2 separate regions of the Homo sapiens genome follow, and region 1 is linked to region 2. Evidence: promoter capture Hi-C in 16 types of primary human blood cells and fetal thymus (Javierre and others, 2016). All regions are on one chromosome and are shown on one strand. Each heading gives the region's core, a stretch centred on a gene start or on the middle of the fragment in contact. The rest is flanking DNA. Distances are from core to core; before and after follow the strand shown. Region 1 overlaps CDK20 (cyclin dependent kinase 20). Region 2 holds the start of NXNL2 (nucleoredoxin like 2).

Evidence for each region. Contacts are between HindIII fragments. The CHiCAGO score rates a contact against its expected background, and 5 or more counts as called.
Region 1: a fragment that was not itself captured here is called in contact with the fragment with the promoter of NXNL2 in region 2 in 2 of 17 cell types (erythroblasts and monocytes); the score reaches 5.2 in erythroblasts.

Annotation. Positions count from the first base shown.
Region 1 is chr9:87,962,716-87,967,130 of GRCh38, reverse strand. CDK20 (cyclin dependent kinase 20) reads left to right here. Exons shown (of 8, transcript NM_001039803.3): 8 at 1-690. Among named protein-coding and RNA genes, the nearest start is that of CDK20, 9.6 kb to the left of the region's middle. The HindIII fragment of the contact is 1,630 bases long and covers 2,104-3,733 here.
Region 2 is chr9:88,532,023-88,536,706 of GRCh38, reverse strand. It overlaps NXNL2 (nucleoredoxin like 2), which reads right to left and starts at 1,529. Exons shown (of 2, transcript NM_001161625.2): 1 at 971-1,529. The coding sequence starts at 1,272. LOC105376134 (a long non-coding RNA gene) reads left to right here and starts at 2,167. Exons shown (of 2, transcript XR_007061653.1): 1 at 2,167-2,693. RefSeq lists enhancers at 75-908, 909-1,743. The HindIII fragment of the contact is 6,313 bases long and covers 1-4,684 here.

The sequences.
Region 1 (4,415 bases), core at 1,669-4,168, 570 kb after region 2:
TGCTTCCCCGAGTGCTGCCTCCTGGTCAAGGAGAAGTGCAGAGAGTAAGGTGTCCTTATGTTGGAAACTCAAGTGGAAGGAAGATTTGGTTTGGTTTTATTCTCAGAGCCATTAAACACTAGTTCAGTATGTGAGATATAGATTCTAAAAACCTCAGGTGGCTCTGCCTTATGTCTGTTCCTCCTTCATTTCTCTCAAGGGAAATGGCTAAGGTGGCATTGTCTCATGGCTCTCGTTTTTGGGGTCATGGGGAGGGTAGCACCAGGCATAGCCACTTTTGCCCTGAGGGACTCCTGTGTACTTCACATCACTGAGCACTCATTTAGAAGTGAGGGAGACAGAAGTCTAGGCCCAGGGATGGCTCCAGTTGGGGATCCAGCAGGAGACCCTCTGCACATGAGGCTGGTTTACCAACATCTACTCCCTCAGGATGAGCGTGAGCCAGAAGCAGCTGTGTATTTAAGGAAACAAGCGTTCCTGGAATTAATTTATAAATTTAATAAATCCCAATATAATCCCAGCTAGTGCTTTTTCCTTATTATAATTTGATAAGGTGATTATAAAAGATACATGGAAGGAAGTGGAACCAGATGCAGAAGAGGAAATGATGGAAGGACTTACGGTATCAGATACCAATATTTAAAAGTTTGTATAATAATAAAGAGTATGATTGTGGTTCAAGGATAAAAACAGACTAGAGAAACTTATTCTTAGCCATCCTTTATTTTTATTTTATTTATTTTTTGATGGAGTCTTGCTCTGTTGCCCAGGCTGGAGTGCAGTGGCACAATCTCGGCTTACTGCAACCTCCGCCTCCTGGGTTCAAGTGATTCTCCTGCCTCAGCTTCCCGAGTAGCTGGGACTACAGGCGCGTGCCACCACACCTGGCTAATTTTTGTATTTTTACTCAAGACAGGGTTTCACCATGTTAGCCAGGATGGTCTTGATCTCCTGACCTCGTGATCTGCCTGCCCGGGCCTCTCAAAGTGCTGGGATTGTAGGCGTGAGCCACCATGCCCAGCCCCAGGCTCCCTTTATTTTTAAAATGTTTATTTTATGCTTCATGTGGATAAACTCTTCTGTGAGCACTCAGGGTGACTAACACTGCTACAGATGCTGGCCTTCAAGCACTTAGTGGAGAGAGAAAACATACTCAACCCTCGTTCTTGGCTTTCAGGAAAGTCTGATGTTTTCATGATATGGCCTCTGTTTATTTCTCCAGCCACATCTTCTGCAGACTGTAAGCTTCTAAGAGAACTTCAAAGAGAACTCTAAAATGTATATAACATTTGCAAGTAAAAGGAGAAAAAATGATTTATCGTGCATACACAAACCAAAAATCTGGTGTAGTTATTTGATATCAAATAACAGAGGCCGGGTGCAGTGGCTCATGCCTGTAATCCCAACACTTTGGGAGGCCAAAGTGGGCAGATCACCCGAGGTTGGGAGTTCGAGACCACCCTGGCCACCATGGTGAAATCCCATCTCTAATAAAAATACAAAAATTAGCCGGGTGTGATGGTGCATGCCTGTAATCCCAGCTACTTGGGAGACTGAGGCAGGAGAATCGCTTAAACCTGGGAGACAGAGGTTGCAGTGAGCCGAGATCGTGCCACTGCACTCCAGCCTTGGTGACAGACTTGTCTCAAAAAAAAAAAAAAAAAAAGAAAATAGATTTTAAGGCAAAGAGCTGTTATTTAATATAAGATACAATTTCAAGGCAAAAATCATTACTAGTGATAAACACATTCAGTTCTAATTATATTCAGTTCATTGGTAAAATTTTTCAAATTTGTACGTACCTAATCTCAAATATTATCAATATTAGAAATGAATAGGATTCAAAAGACTAAGGATATTAGAAGTAACTTTATACATGCGAAATTTTGGTAAAATTGACAAATCCATAGAAAAATTCGACTTGCAATAATAAAAAACAAACCCCTGAAGTGTCTTAAAACTGTTAAAAAGGAATTGAACCTCCAAATTAAAATATTTTCATTATGTAATCTCCAGGCCCAGATAGCTTCACTACTAAATTCTACCAGTCAATCACTTAATAAATGGACAGTGTCACGATTCCAGAGAATACAGGAGAAAGCTTACTCAGCTTATTTTGTGACACCAGCAGTAGTCTTGATACTAAAATTCAACAAGGACATTAGAAAAATGAAAATTATATAATGATTCTTGTGTTACCTTTCAAAAATAAAGGAAAAATCAGCCGGGTGTGATGGCTCATGCCTGTAATCTCAACACTTTGGGAGGCCGAGGTGGGAGGACTGCTTAAGTCCAGGAGTTTGAGACCAGCTTCGGCAATACGGCAAGACCCCATCTCTACAAAAAAAATTAGCCAGGTGTGGTGGCATGCGCCTGTAGTGCCAGCTACATGAGAGGCTGAGGTAGGAGGATCGCTTAAGACAGCAGTGAGCTGTGATCACACCACTGCACTCAGCTTGGGTGACGAAGAGTGAGACCATGCCTCCCCATAAGGGGTAGCCCCCACAAAACAGGAGTGTGGTCCTCCCTGACCCTTGCCTGGCCAGGCTCTTCCCAAGGCTGAGGCCCCTAGTGGCATGAGGGTCTCCAAAGAGCCTGGGGCCACAGGCCTTGCTCTGGGAGCCCCAGGAGCTCAGGGTCTGGCCAGCCTGTCCCCAGCCCAGGACAGACCACCAGTTGTTTGGTGGTTACTGCAATGGAATTCAGTCCCAAACCTCCCCATAGACCCTGACGTCAGGGCCCCTGGTTCCCACAGTACTGCTTCGGGCAGGAATGCTGGGCCCCCATCCCTTCAGCATCTGCCCTGGCTACCTCCCGGACCATGGACAGACTGGCCCTGCAACCCCACTGGGGCCCATCATCAACCCCTGCCTAGCTTTCTGAAGATCCACAGGAAGAGCCGAAGACACCTCCCCTTCACAGTGGCCCATGTCCTATCCCTGTCAGTTTCACTGACCTGCATGTTCTGGAAGGAGCCAGGACAGCAGCCTACCCCGCAAGCTGCCCAGAAGCCCCGGATGGCCCCTCAGCCAGCTGAAACCACCGTCCACTGGGAAGATGGCTACTTGGAGGCCTCTGGAGGGGAGGGGGTGTGGCATCCTCATAGCTCTGGCCAGCCAGCAGGATGTCTTGTGTCCTCATGCTGACCTCCTGTGGGACAGAACTCCCTAACACGGCACAAGGTCCAGATCCAGAGGGGTTTGATCTGGCCTCAACCCGAGCCTGGGGCCCCCAGCAGCCAAGGTGATCACCAAAGGGACTGAGCCACCTGTAGCTCTGACCAGTACTAGAATCTAGCCCAAGGTAGGGCGAGCCCTCTCAGAGCAGTGCATGGCTACTTGGGACCTGTGCAAACCCCAAAAGGCCAAGTCAGTGACCTTAGGGGGCCTGAATAGCAACCAGTCACCTTGGCGATGAGGCTGCAGGAGTAGGCAGGCCAGCCACCACCCTCATTCATACAAGGAGGCAGGGATGGCCAGGCTCCAGGACCTGAGTGGTCACCTGGTCACCCATGAGAAAGAGCCCTGAGGCCAAGCGTGGTGCTGGGCCCTCCTGCTCCAGGTGGTAGGACTGGAGGAAACTGGGCAGGCCTGGGCCCAGGAGACTGCGTCCCTCTATCTGCCATCCTTGGCAGGTCACGGTCCCCAAAACTCATGAAATGTGGCCTTACTCAAAGCAAGGAGGCTTCAAGGTGGGGACCAGAGTCCCCAGTCTTGGTTCACCATTCAAAGCTTCCCTCCTGGGGACAAGGGATGCTCCCCTGGCCTCATGCCCACCCCTCCCCACCCCCCACATATTGGTTAAAAGACGATAAATTGTTTATCATTATGACTCATCTGTTCTTGGGGCACCCAGAGTTGTCTGCAAGAAGCATCAGACACCCTGGAACAGGTGAGAGAAGAGGGTGGCACAGCCCATGCTGCCTGACCTGCCTCCCCCTTGCAAAGGCTATAGTAGGGCCTAGGGCCATACAGAGCCAAGGCTCCCATATACTTCATGTAAGACCATCAGGAGGCCTCAGGAAATCTGAAGCGGGGAGGTCAAAATTCTCTGATTGCCCACTCAAATGTCCTAATCCCACATCTCAGGGTCTTGCTCTTTCCCTATCTGGGCCTGACTTTTTAAAATTGCCATCGACCATGAGGCTGCTTCCCTTCCGCAAGCCAAACAAACCACCTACAACCATGCTCCTGCCAAGATGTACAAGAGAGGTTATACTAGAACCTAAGGAACAAGGGGGTCCCAAATTGGATGATCTCTGGGAAACCCGTGGGGCAGTTACAGTTCTTACTAGGGTCAGATTATGGTATCTCCTTCAAGCCATCCCCGCCTTCTGTGCCTGCCCCTGATCTCCACCAGTGGCAGGTACCCACCCTACACAGGGATTTGGTGATTGTGGAATCAGGTTCCCCTGA
Region 2 (4,684 bases), core at 280-2,779:
AAAACTTTCCAAAGTTAGCTTCCAGTTTTCATTTTCCAGAAGGAATGTCATCTCATGATAATCAGTTTAGGGGGTAATGCCACAACTTAATGATAATCTCCAGAAATGTGAGGCTGTAAAGCAAAACCCAGAAATTCACATTGGTACCTAGAAGGGGGTGGCCAGGACAACATACTTGACGAGGCCTGCTTTAAACCTAAGTCTGGACTCTTACACCATAGGAGACCACAGGAGACCCACCCCAAAAGCAGAACAATCAATCCCTGTAATCCCCTCTCTGCCAATCCCTACCCCCTCCTTTGCAACAGTTAGAGTAATAAAGTTTATAGTAATGAGTTTTATGCTTCTCTAGTGATGAAATTCCATCAGTGTCGGTAAAAATGAAACCGCAAAGGTGGCCAGCACCTGGGTTCCTGCCAGCCTTGAAGCCCCCGTCCCTCCCTCCCAGCAAACCAACCACGGCCTGCACTGTGGGTGCCTGTCACAGAGCTGATGTCCTCGCGGGTCATCCCTCATCCCCGCATCCAGACACCGGGTCATGTCCCTGTGCTTCCTGCCCACTAACTGGGAGGATGACGCAGCGGCGCCGGGAGTCCAGGGCTGATTGGGCCGGCGGTTCCCGGAGCCGAGCCCGCGAACTCACAGCATCACCACCACTGGGAGCTCCTTCGCAATGCAGATTCCCGGAGCTCCAGACCCCAGGCAGAAACGCGCCCGCGTCCATGCTCCACGAGCCCCCTTGGGGTGCCGATGCCCTGGGTTTTCGAATCTGGTCTGCACCCTCCCTGGTCTCCAAGAGAGGTTGAAACTGAGACTGAGTGTGATTTACCGGAGTCCGGACGTGAACCGAGAGACGGGGAGGTGTTGGGGGGGGGCGTCATAAAGAGCTCCCCAGTGCAGAGGGGGAGGCCTGGGGGAACATGGGGGAGACGTGCCGGGCGGCCCCCGCCCCCCCAGGACCCCCACTCACTGCCGGTAGGGGTCGTGGAAGGGCAGCGCCAGCCAGGCGCCATGCAGCTCGCGCATGAAGTCCAGCATCTCCTGGGAGCTGCCGTCGGCTGACACGAAGACCACTTCGAAGGGCGCGGGCCGCCGCGCCTCGGCCACCAGCGCCGTATAGAAGTCGCAGAGCAGCGGCGTGAAGTCGCGGCTCGGCGCGCACCGGGCCGCCGCGAAGTACAGTGCCACCACCTTGTTCTGCAGCGCCGCCTCGGCCTCCACCGTCGCGCCCTTACAGGTCACCAGGTGCCGCTCGCCCAGAATGTCAACCATGGCGCAGACACGCAGCCACCTGAGACCCGAGGACACCTGCAGGAGGATGATCACCTGCGGGGAGGCGGCGGCGAGCGCCGCGGTGCCCCGCCTCTGTCCGCACCACCGGGCGCTGGACCTCTCAAGACCTGCCCCAGATGCGCCCACACCTTGGCCAGGCCTCGCCTGTGGCTGGAGCAATTGTGTTCGCGCCGACAATGAGACACTCAGACACCAGAGACCCCAGATACCTGGGCGACAGCGCGGCACCCGCCTCTGGGAGCGGGGCCAGCCAGGCAACCTCAAGCCCTCAGGTCTCTGCACCCTCCCCCAACTGCGCCCCGCCCACACTCCTGCGCCCTCCCACCACTGCGCCCCGCCCACATTCCCCGCAAGCTCCCCAACTGCGCCCCGCCCACATTCCGCACTCTCCACCCACTGCGCCCCGCCCACATCCCGCACTCTCCACCCACTGCGCCCCGCCCACATCCCCGCCCCCGCCCCCACTGCGCCTCGCCCGCATCCCCACACTGTCCCCCACTGCGCTGGGCCCACATCCCTACACTCTCCACCCACTGCGCCCCGCCCACATCTCCGCACCCTCCCCCACCGCACCCCGCCCACATCCCCGCACTCTCCTCCAACTGCGCCTCGCCCACATTCCACAGTTTCCCCTCACTGCGCCCCGCCCACATCCCCGCACTCTTCTCCAACTGCGCCTCGCCCACATTCCACAGTTTCCCCTCACTGCGCCCCGCGCACACTCCCGCTCCCTCCCCCACTGCGCCCCGCCCACACTCCCGCGCCCTCCCCCTCACTGCGGCCCGCCGACATCCCGCGCCCCCGCCCCCATCCCGACTGCGCCCCGCCCACCTCCCGCGCCCTCTCCCACTGGTTGTCCAGCCCACATCCTGCACTCCCTCCACTGCGCCCCGCTCACACTCCCGCACCCTCCCCACACTGCGCCCTGCCCACACTCCTGCACTCTCTCCCCACTACGCCCCCTACCACATCCCGCGCCCCCGCCCCCATCCCCACTGCGCCCCGCCCACACTCCCGCGCCCTCGCGCCCCTGGGCTCTCCCGTCGTGGGCACTCTCCCCAGCGCTTCTACACTTTCTCCCGACGCAGCGCCCTGCCCTCCGTCCCGCCCCACCTATTGCCTCCTGCGCTTCCCCCACACCGTGCTCTTCCTCCTCCTTCACTTCCTCCCACTCCTCGCGCTCCCCTTCAGCGCCCCACGCAGCCCCTCCCCCAAAACCCCGCGTCGCTCTCCTTCCCTCCTGGCCTCTCTTCCAGTCTCGCGCTCCCTGCCGGGCCCCGCCGCAGGTGTCCCGCAGCCGTCTCCCCAGGGCATTTGAATCTTGCCTTGGAGCTCTTGCCGCGCGGCCCAGCACCCTGGAAGAGGCATCAGGGAGGATGGGACGACGAGGAAGGGGAAGGGTAATTGGGCTTGGAGCGGGCTTGGGCGGGGTGGTAGGGAACCTGAGCTCCGTTGGTTCAGGGTGTTTGCCCCTGACATCCTGTGGCCTGGCTGGGAGGGTTCGTGAAGTTCAGGAAGAAATTGGGAGCAGTCCTTACAGAATGTTTTATTTGAAGAACCAAGAGTATTAATTTTTTGGCGAGCACTGTTGTAGGCCCTGGGAATTCAGCAGTGAGAAAAATAATTTCAACTCCCTGCCAGACCCGGGCTAGAAGGAGGCAAGCGAGCGAGGCACTCGCATAGGGGCAAAATTTAAGGGCGCGACAAAAAAACTCAGTAGTCAAGGTAAATAATGTTTTAATACAATATCTTAAAAAGTCAAAATGAATGCAAAAAAAGTTTATAATGAACAAAATATCAAAAACTTAAAGACAGTGAATGAAACCAAAATATGCCATCCTAAAATATGCCGCTTTGGTATATTGATTATTTTGAGCGAGAGGCACTTGAAAAATAGCAAATGCAGAGAGACGTTCTCCCCTTACCTGTCTAAAGACGGAACCTCCAAAAGAAACTGATTGTCGTAAATTCCCTCCCGGGAGGATGGACTCTTATCACAGCAGAAGTCCACACCACACCTAGACAAACTTTGTCACAAACTCATAAAGACTTATGCATCTTTCCTAAAAATCAGTTACTCTCCCCTAAGTGGCCTACACCAGCTTCCAGTTCCCCAATTTTAGAAGCTCTCAAAGCTCACTGGTTTGGGGGGTTTTCACCTAGTTTCCTGCAATGCCCCCATGCAGGTGATATTAAAGATTAATAAATGTGTATTCCCGTTCCCCCCGTTCATCTGCCCGTTGGCAGTTAATTTCATAGAGCCAGCTATGGAACTGGGGAGGACAGAGAGAAGGTCTTTGCTCTCCTAAGACAAGATGGATCCCCCACTGACTTTGGACTCCCGTCACGTTCACCGACCCCTGAGTCCTGCTCCTGTGCCTGCCTGGAGCTTATGTTCTAACGGGCACAAACAATAAATAAGGAAGATATTTTGCAGGTGCTATGCCAAAAGAAGAGCCATGAGGAGGGGCGCAGGTTTTTGTTTTGTTTTATTTTGGTTTGGTTTGGTTGGTTGGTTGAGATGGAGTCTCGCTCTTGTTGCCCAGGCTGGAGTGCAATGGCGTGATCTCGGCTCACTGCAACCTCCGCCTCCCGGGTTCAAGCAATTCTCCCGCCTCAGCCTCCTGAGTAGCTGGGATTACTGGCGCGTGCCACCACGCCCAGCTAATTTTTGTATTTTTAGTAGAGACGGGGTTTCATCATGTTAGCCAGGCTGGTCTCAAACTCCTGACTTCAGGTGATCTACCCACCTCTGCCTCCCAAAGTGCTGGAATTACAGGCTTGAGCCACCGAGGGGCGCAGTTTTAATCTAGCGGTGAGAGGAGTCAGGGAAGGTGAAATTTGCGCTTCCTGAGGACCCGCCTGCCGGCCCGGGCTCCCCCAGTCTCGCCGTTAAATGAACGGAAATTGGCGGACGCCGTTGCCTGCAGGCACAGCCCGTCGGCTCGGTTGCGTAAATGTACTTAGCAGCCAAAGCTCAGTGGAAACCCTGCGGGAGGATTGATTGGCGCTCTTAGGTGAAGCAGGCTGTCAAGAGCCCCGATTCACTGTCCTCTGGGGAAAATGGATAGACAAATCGGAGGAAAAAATTGAGAGGAACTGTGAGCAGTATAAATCTTGCATGAGGAGGCCCCTGACTTACGTTAAAACTCAGAGGTAAGAGGAATGAAATGCAGCTAAGCTCTCAAAATCATCCAGACTATTTTGTTTTGTCATCTTATCCTTGAACACACAATGAGCCAAAGTAGACAGCATTCCTAATTAGTTGACGGTGCCACCCTCCCGAGAAAATTAACGGTCATTCGCATTAATACTGCCTGCCCTGGGGAACTCACCCAACCTCCATCCAGGAATGGATCGCACTTCCTGCTGCCGATGTCGGGGGCAGGGC